Linked DNA regions of Homo sapiens: region 1 is linked to region 2. Evidence: promoter capture Hi-C in 16 types of primary human blood cells and fetal thymus (Javierre and others, 2016). All regions are on one chromosome and are shown on one strand. Each heading gives the region's core, a stretch centred on a gene start or on the middle of the fragment in contact. The rest is flanking DNA. Distances are from core to core; before and after follow the strand shown. Region 1 has its middle 7.8 kb from the start of SNAR-C1. Region 2 holds the start of CARD8 (caspase recruitment domain family member 8).

Evidence for each region. Contacts are between HindIII fragments. The CHiCAGO score rates a contact against its expected background, and 5 or more counts as called.
Region 1: a fragment that was not itself captured here is called in contact with the fragment with the promoter of CARD8 in region 2 in 10 of 17 cell types (naive B cells, total B cells, M2 macrophages and 7 more); the score reaches 10.1 in naive B cells.

What each region holds. Positions count from the first base shown.
Region 1 is chr19:47,961,653-47,965,271 of GRCh38, forward strand. No RefSeq gene overlaps it. Among named protein-coding and RNA genes, the nearest start is that of SNAR-C1, 7.8 kb to the left of the region's middle. The HindIII fragment of the contact is 5,095 bases long and covers 1-3,619 here.
Region 2 is chr19:48,253,997-48,257,304 of GRCh38, forward strand. It overlaps CARD8 (caspase recruitment domain family member 8), which reads right to left and starts at 1,916. Exons shown (of 14, transcript NM_001184900.3): 1 at 1,796-1,916. It overlaps CARD8-AS1 (CARD8 antisense RNA 1), which reads left to right and starts at 1,679. Exons shown (of 2, transcript NR_040599.1): 1 at 1,679-1,798; 2 at 2,355-3,308. RefSeq lists an enhancer at 1,785-2,024. The HindIII fragment of the contact is 2,537 bases long and covers 1,399-3,308 here.

The DNA.
Region 1 (3,619 bases), core at 51-2,550, 290 kb before region 2:
GTTCTAGGAGCCATGAAGGAGAGTTTACAGAAGCCCATTCTCCGCTTCATCATCATTGTAACACAATGAAAGCTGATGACATGGCTGCTTGGCTACACTGTGTTTATCAGCTTCTCCTGCATTTAGAATGGGGGCATGTAACTACACACTCTAAGTAGGTGCTTACCCAGGTCCAGAGTCTCCAGGAATAAGATCAATGTAGAAGAGCAGCTACAGAAGGAGTCGGTTGACTTGAATGACATAAAAATAAATCATGGTAATTGCTTAAGCCTCAGCATTTTTTTTGTACTGTCCCATTTAGATAAATGAATAGAGTTTGACAACAGTCTTTCATGTCTTTGTTGGTGCCACCAAGCTCTGAAATTCCCAAGGAACATAATGTTTCTTCACGCGCTCCATTCTCGTAGGAGGCTAACTACGATGACGTGCAATGTGACTTTTCCCTATCTTAATAGCTGGGCCCAAGGGTCTGGGAACCGATGTGAGTCATACGCCTTTCTGAAAATATTTTTTTCAAACTGTATTACTCCTGGGCCCTGCGGAAATCATTGCAGAAAGTATTTGGTATCACACTGAGCTAACAGAGAAGTGAACCTAACTCAGGACTCTGTCTCATGTTCCTATAATCTTCCACTCTAATCACTGGATATCAGTGGTATTCCTAGTCCTTGAAAACTAATCTTTGCTCAAAACCAGTATTCAGTAGGCTCTGGAAAGTTTATGTATTTACCTTTGTAATTTCTTTCTTTCTTTCTTTCTTTCTTTCTTTCTTTCTTTCTTTCTTTCTTTCTTTTTTCTTTCTTTCTTTCTTTTTTCTTTCTTTCTTTCTTTCTTTCTTTTTTTTCTGAGAGACTAGAGTTTCGCTCTAGTCTCTCACGCTGGAGTGCAATGGCGCGATCTCAGTTCACTGCAACCTCCGCCTCCCAGGCTCAAGCGATTCTCCTGCCTCAGCCTCCCGAGTAGCTGGGATTACAGGAATGCGCCACCATGCTCAGCTAATTTTTGTATTTTTAGTAGAGATGGGGTTTCACCATGTTGGCCAGGCTGGTCTCGAACTCCTGACCTCAGGGGATCCACCCCCCTCGGCCTCCCAAAGTGCTGGGATTACAGGCGTGAGCCACCGTGCCTGGTCCCTTTGCATTTTCTTACTGTGTCTGCCTATGGCCTTATAGCAGTGCCTGGTTACCCAGCCTTGCCTTCACTCAAGGGGCATTGAGTTGGTGAACTGTCTTGTGCCTGGAACTGGGAGAAAAGCCATGACTCTAGCGCGATGGTTCCAGTCTGGCTGTTATACTGTGGATCTTCTGTGCAATGAACGTCTTTTTTTTTTTTTTTTTTTTGAGACAGAGTCTTGCTCTGTCACCAGGCTGGAGTGCAGTGGTGCAATCTCAGCTCACTGAAACCGCCCCCTCCCGGGTTCAAGCAATTCCCCTGCCTCAGCCTCCCAAGTTGCTGGGGCTACAGGTGTGTGCCACCATGCCAGGCTAATTTTTTGTATTTTAGTAGAGACGGGGTTTCACCATGTTGGCCAGGATGGTCTCGATCTCATGACCTCGTGATCTGCCCGCCTCGGCCTCCCAAAGTGCTGGGATTACAGGCATGAAGCACTGCACCTGGCCACAATGAATGTCTTTAAGTGAACTGTCAGTTGAATTCATTTCTGAAAAAAACCTATGATTATCACCACCAGATGTCGCTCTTGCACCAGCCATTCTCTATGATCTGATTAGTAATTATACCCTGTTGCCTGGTATCACTTTGCTTCTTAGGGATTAATTGCCACCACCTGGGCTCAATCACACCAGGCTCTGCCTGTCTCCACTGGAACCCTGAAGCTCACTTCAAAAAGCATGGCTTTCTGCTAGCATTCCTAGAGCGGAAAAGCAAGTCAGCCATATTCTTTACAAAAGATTTCCTATGCTTTGTGAAAGATTAAGATGAGATTTATGGGTTCACAAAGACAATGTTTCCGTTTTTTTAACCATAATCTATAGAAAGAATAGACTTTAAAATATGAGCTGACTTCTATCTATCCATCATCTATATCTTTCTATTTAGGCATCCCTATCTATCTATACAATCTCTAAACCTTTTTAGAAATAACTCATGCCATACACATGAAACACTCTGTGTTTTTCCATCCACGTTTGCAGTATTTTTAATTTAAACAATGCTGGTTGTGCTTTGATAAATGGAAGATTATGACTCACCATTTGAAAAGAGCTGGCCTAAGTGTGTGTCTTTCTTTTCTTTTCTTTTCTTTTCTTTTCTTTTCTTTTCTTTTCTTTTCTTTTCTTTTCTTTTCTTTCTTTTTTTGATGGAGTCTCACTCTGTCGCCCAGGCTGGAGTGCAGTGTTGCTATCTCGGCTCGCTGCAGCCTCAGCCTCCCGGATTCAAGCGATCCTCCTGCCTCAGCCTCCTGAGTAGCTGGGATTACAGGCGCCTGCCACCACACCTGGCTAATTTTTGTATTGTTAGTAGAGATGGGGTTTCACCATGCTGGCCGGGCTGGTCTCAAACTCCTGACCTCAGGTGATCCACCCGCCTTGGCCTCCCAGTGTTGGGATTACAGGCTTGGACCACCGTGCCTGGCCCTAAGTGTTTTCTAACATAAGCATGGATAGGTTTAAGAGTGGAGGGTGGGCGTTTGTGTGTGTGTGTGTGTGTGTGTGTGTGTGTTTGTGTGTGTGTGTGTGTGTGGTCACAGGGCCTCTGGACATTGCCATCCCCCTTCACCTCTGCACCTGCCTAATTGTCATTAAACTATCGGGACCCAGCCTGGTTGTTGTCCCTTGTCCCTTCCTAGAAGTGATCCCTGATCCTGCAGGCTGAGCAAGGGTCCCGTTCTCTGGCCTCCTCTTACCCCTGGAGTCTCTGGTTTTTTTTTTTTTAAATTAGTTAATTAATTAATGTATTTTTGAGACGGAGTTTCACTCTGTCTCCCAGGCTGGAGTGCAGTGGTGCAATCTCAGCTCACTGCAACCTCCACCTCCCGGGTTCAAGTGATTCTCCTGCCTCAGCCTCCTGAGTAGCTGGGATTACAGGCAGGCACCACCACACCCAGCTAATTTTTGTATTTTTAGTAGAGACAGGGTTTCGCCATGTTGGCCAGGCTGGTCTCGAACTGCTGACCTCAGGCGATCCACCTGCCTCAGCTTCCCAAAGTGCTGGGATTACAGGCATTAGCTGCTGTGCCCAGGCATATACTCACTGTTTTCTTGGCCATTCATGAACACGTGAACAGCAGGGAAGAACTGGAGTTGTTCAATGCCCTCATGCCCTGCTGAGGTTGAACAAGGTGATGCTCCACCTTCTTGTTTCGGCTTTCAGTGTATACAAGGGTCCTTCAGGCTGGGCGTGGTGGTTCACAACTGTGATCCCAGCACTTTGGGATGCCGACACGGGCGGATCACCTGAGGTCGGGAGTTCGAGACCAGCCTGACCAACATGGGGAAACCTCGTCTCTACTAAAAAATACAAAATTAGCTGAGTGTAGTGGTGCATGCCTGTAGTCCCAGCTATTTGGAAGGCTGAGGCAGCAGAATTGCTTGAACCCGGGAGGCGGAGGTTGCAGTGAGCTGATATCTCGCCATTGCACTCCAGCCTGGGCAACAAGAGT
Region 2 (3,308 bases), core at 666-3,165:
ACACATAGCATACATATGTAGCCACATAGCAAACACAGAAATGACTATCAACAAAGTGGAAGAGTTTAATGCACAGATTAAGTTATCTGAATATATGTACAATGAGTTATAAATAATAAATAATTGAGCCAGGTGAAGTAGTACATGCCTGTAATCCCACCTACTTGGGAGGCTGAGGTAGGAGTTTGAGCCCAGGAGTTTGAGTCTGGTCTGGGCAGCATTGCAAGATCCCATCCCCCAAATAATAAATAAACTAACTAAGTAATCAATAATTGAATGAGAAAAGTTAGCTCATATTTCAATATGTTCAATCTTAGGATATATACTTCTAGGCAACCACTTAGTGACAAAAATTCTGTAGAAATCCATCATTGAAAGTTCATTATGTAAATAAATGTGAAGACTAGATAAGAACCACAGAACACAATGACATTGGAAAAAATGCCACAGTAATTCTTTGAAAAAAGAAATGCAGGCCTGGTGCGGTGGCTCATCCCTGTAATCCCAGCACTTTGGGAGGCCGAAGTGGGCAGATCACAAGTCAGGGGTTCGAGACCAGCCTGGCCAACATAGTGAAACCCCGTCTCTACTAAAAACACAAAAACAATTAGCTGGGTGTGGTGGTGGGCACCTGTAGTCGCAGCTACTCGGGAGGCTGAGGCAGGAGAGTGCTTTCAGAGAAACTTCTTGATCACAAGGGGAAATCTGAAAGTTGTCAGAACAAAATGGAGTCACTTATGTTAAGATAACCCTGACAAATAGAGCCAGGAAGGCCATGAAGAGAGGGCTCTTATCCTTGCATGCCTGAAGATGAAAAAGACTCTACAAAACCCACAACCTTACATAAAGGTCTTCACAACCTTAAAAAAATATATATTTCTGCAAGGAATGCTGCCCAGCAACTGCTGGTCCAACCTAGGACTAATGTCACCCTTGTTACTGATCTTTGTAGCCAAGGAAAATTCTGTTAAAACAATATGCAATCCTCCCCATTTCTGTCTTCCTTTATCTCCCTGAATATACACATAGTTTAATACGGCATGTCTATTCCCAATTGCAATGCTCTATTCCCAAATAAACATTGTTTCCGGCTGGGCGCAGTGGCTCACGCCTGTAATCCCAACACTTTGGGAGGCCAAGGCGGGCTGATCTCGAGGTCAAGAGACGGAGACCATCCTGGCCAACATGGTGAAACCCCGTCTCTACTAAAAAATAAAAAATTAGCTGGATGTGGTGGTGCACGCCTGTAGTCCCAGCTACTTGGGAGACTGAGGCACGAGAATCGCTTGAACCTGGGAGGCAGAGGTTGCAGTGAGCCAAGATCATGCCACTGTACTCCAGCCTAGCCACAGAGCGAGACTCCATCTCAAAAAGAAAAAAAAATTGTTTCCCTTAGGAAGCTTTCATATGTTTGTTAGTTAGGTTAACACTTCTAATAATTAAAGTTATACAGTTACAGTGTAAAATTATTAGTATTAACAACATAAACATTGGTATAAAAATTATTATTACAGAAATTAAAACAAATTGAGTGTGAGAGAGATTATTAAGACTGTCCAAGCCAAGTCACTGAAGTCATAAATTTAAGTTATGACAGGATGCCGAGCTTCCAGAGGGTTTTGTTTTTAACAAGGGAGGGGCCCTATTTCCCCTTCTGACACGCTCATATGAACTTCTCACTTTGTCGTACTCCTTCCTTGCTGACTAAGAGGAACAGAACACAGAGCAGCCTGGCGGTGTCCTACCAACAAGCCTCCGTTTCTCCTTCCTGTACACTAGGGCTCCTGAAACTCACCTGGTAAGCGCTCCAGAAAAGCAGCAGGTGGTGACTTTAGGGTAGGACGGGCCAAATGGGAGAATCCCCTTAGGTCGGTTTCTCTGGTTCTCAACTTCTTTTGAAATAACGCTCGCAGAGGAGGTGGGCTTTCTGAGAACTGAGGGAAGTAAGCTCTCAGGACTTCCGGTCGCCATGATGGCTGTGGGCAGTCAATGGGGTCAGTGCAAGCATCTGGGCCATCTTTAATGTGGGCAGGAAAAAAACACGATTACACTTACTTCTGCAGAGTTTATAATATCCTTGTTCATTATTTAAAATAAAATATCTAAGACATAGGTAATAGTATATTTTAAATAAAATTGAAGCAATATATGAAATTTCTCTGGAATTCATCCAGCCACTCTCAGCTGTTACCACTATCCAGAAACGTCTTAATCCGCCTGCATGATTTATGTATTTGGTTTGTATTTTAAATATCATTTTCTGTAATATTTAAAAGTTGTATTTGCTTGGTATCCTGCTATGCATTCTCATGCAATTTGATTTTTAATCAATATTACTTTTTTTTTTTTTTGAGATGAAGTCTCCGTCTGTCACCCAGGCTGGAGTGTAATGGAGCAATCTCGGCTCACTGCAACCTCTGCCTCCCAGGTTCAAGCGATTCTCTTGCCTCAGCCTCCCGAGTAGCTGGAATTATAGGTGCATGCCACCACGCTCGGCTAATTTTTTGTATTTTTAGTAAAGACGGAGTTTCACCATGTTGGTCAGGATGGTCTCCGTCTCTTGACCTCGAGATCAGCCCGCCTCGGCCTCCCAAAGTGCTGGGATTACAGGCGTGAGCCACTGTGCCCGGCCTTGGTTTCTAAATACTATTTTGAAGTATCTGTGGAGAAATGGTTACTTCGAGGGCTGGGGCAGGAATATATAAGATAACATTGGAACAAATTCTGACGCCAGAACATGAAGAAATATTTGAAAAAGGATGGGGCATATTGACTGAACACAGAAGACAAACATGCATGACCTCAGCCTAATCGTGAGAAAACATCAAAGAAATCCAAATTGATAAACATTCTGTAAAATAATTGGCCATGCTCAGCAAAAGTGTCACAATCACAAAAGACAAGGGAAGAATAAGAAACGGTCACAGCCTGGAGGAATCTAAGGACATAACAACTGAGTGCAATGTGAGATCCTCGATTCGATCTTGGAGAAGAAAGAGGACGTTAAGAGAAATATTGACAAAATTCAAATAAGGTCTGCACATTAGGTAATGGTAAGATACGTTGACATCAATTTCCTGGTTGGATACTTGTATTACATATACTATTATGTATATAATTATTATATTACAATTACATATACAGTTGTATATTATATATAATACAATAAATGTATATATATGATTATAATACAATAAATGTATATATACAGTTTTATATATAACAACTATTATACATATAATACAATTATATATATAGCTAACATCAGGATAGGCTGGTTGAGGATTTATATGAATCTTTGCTAATTT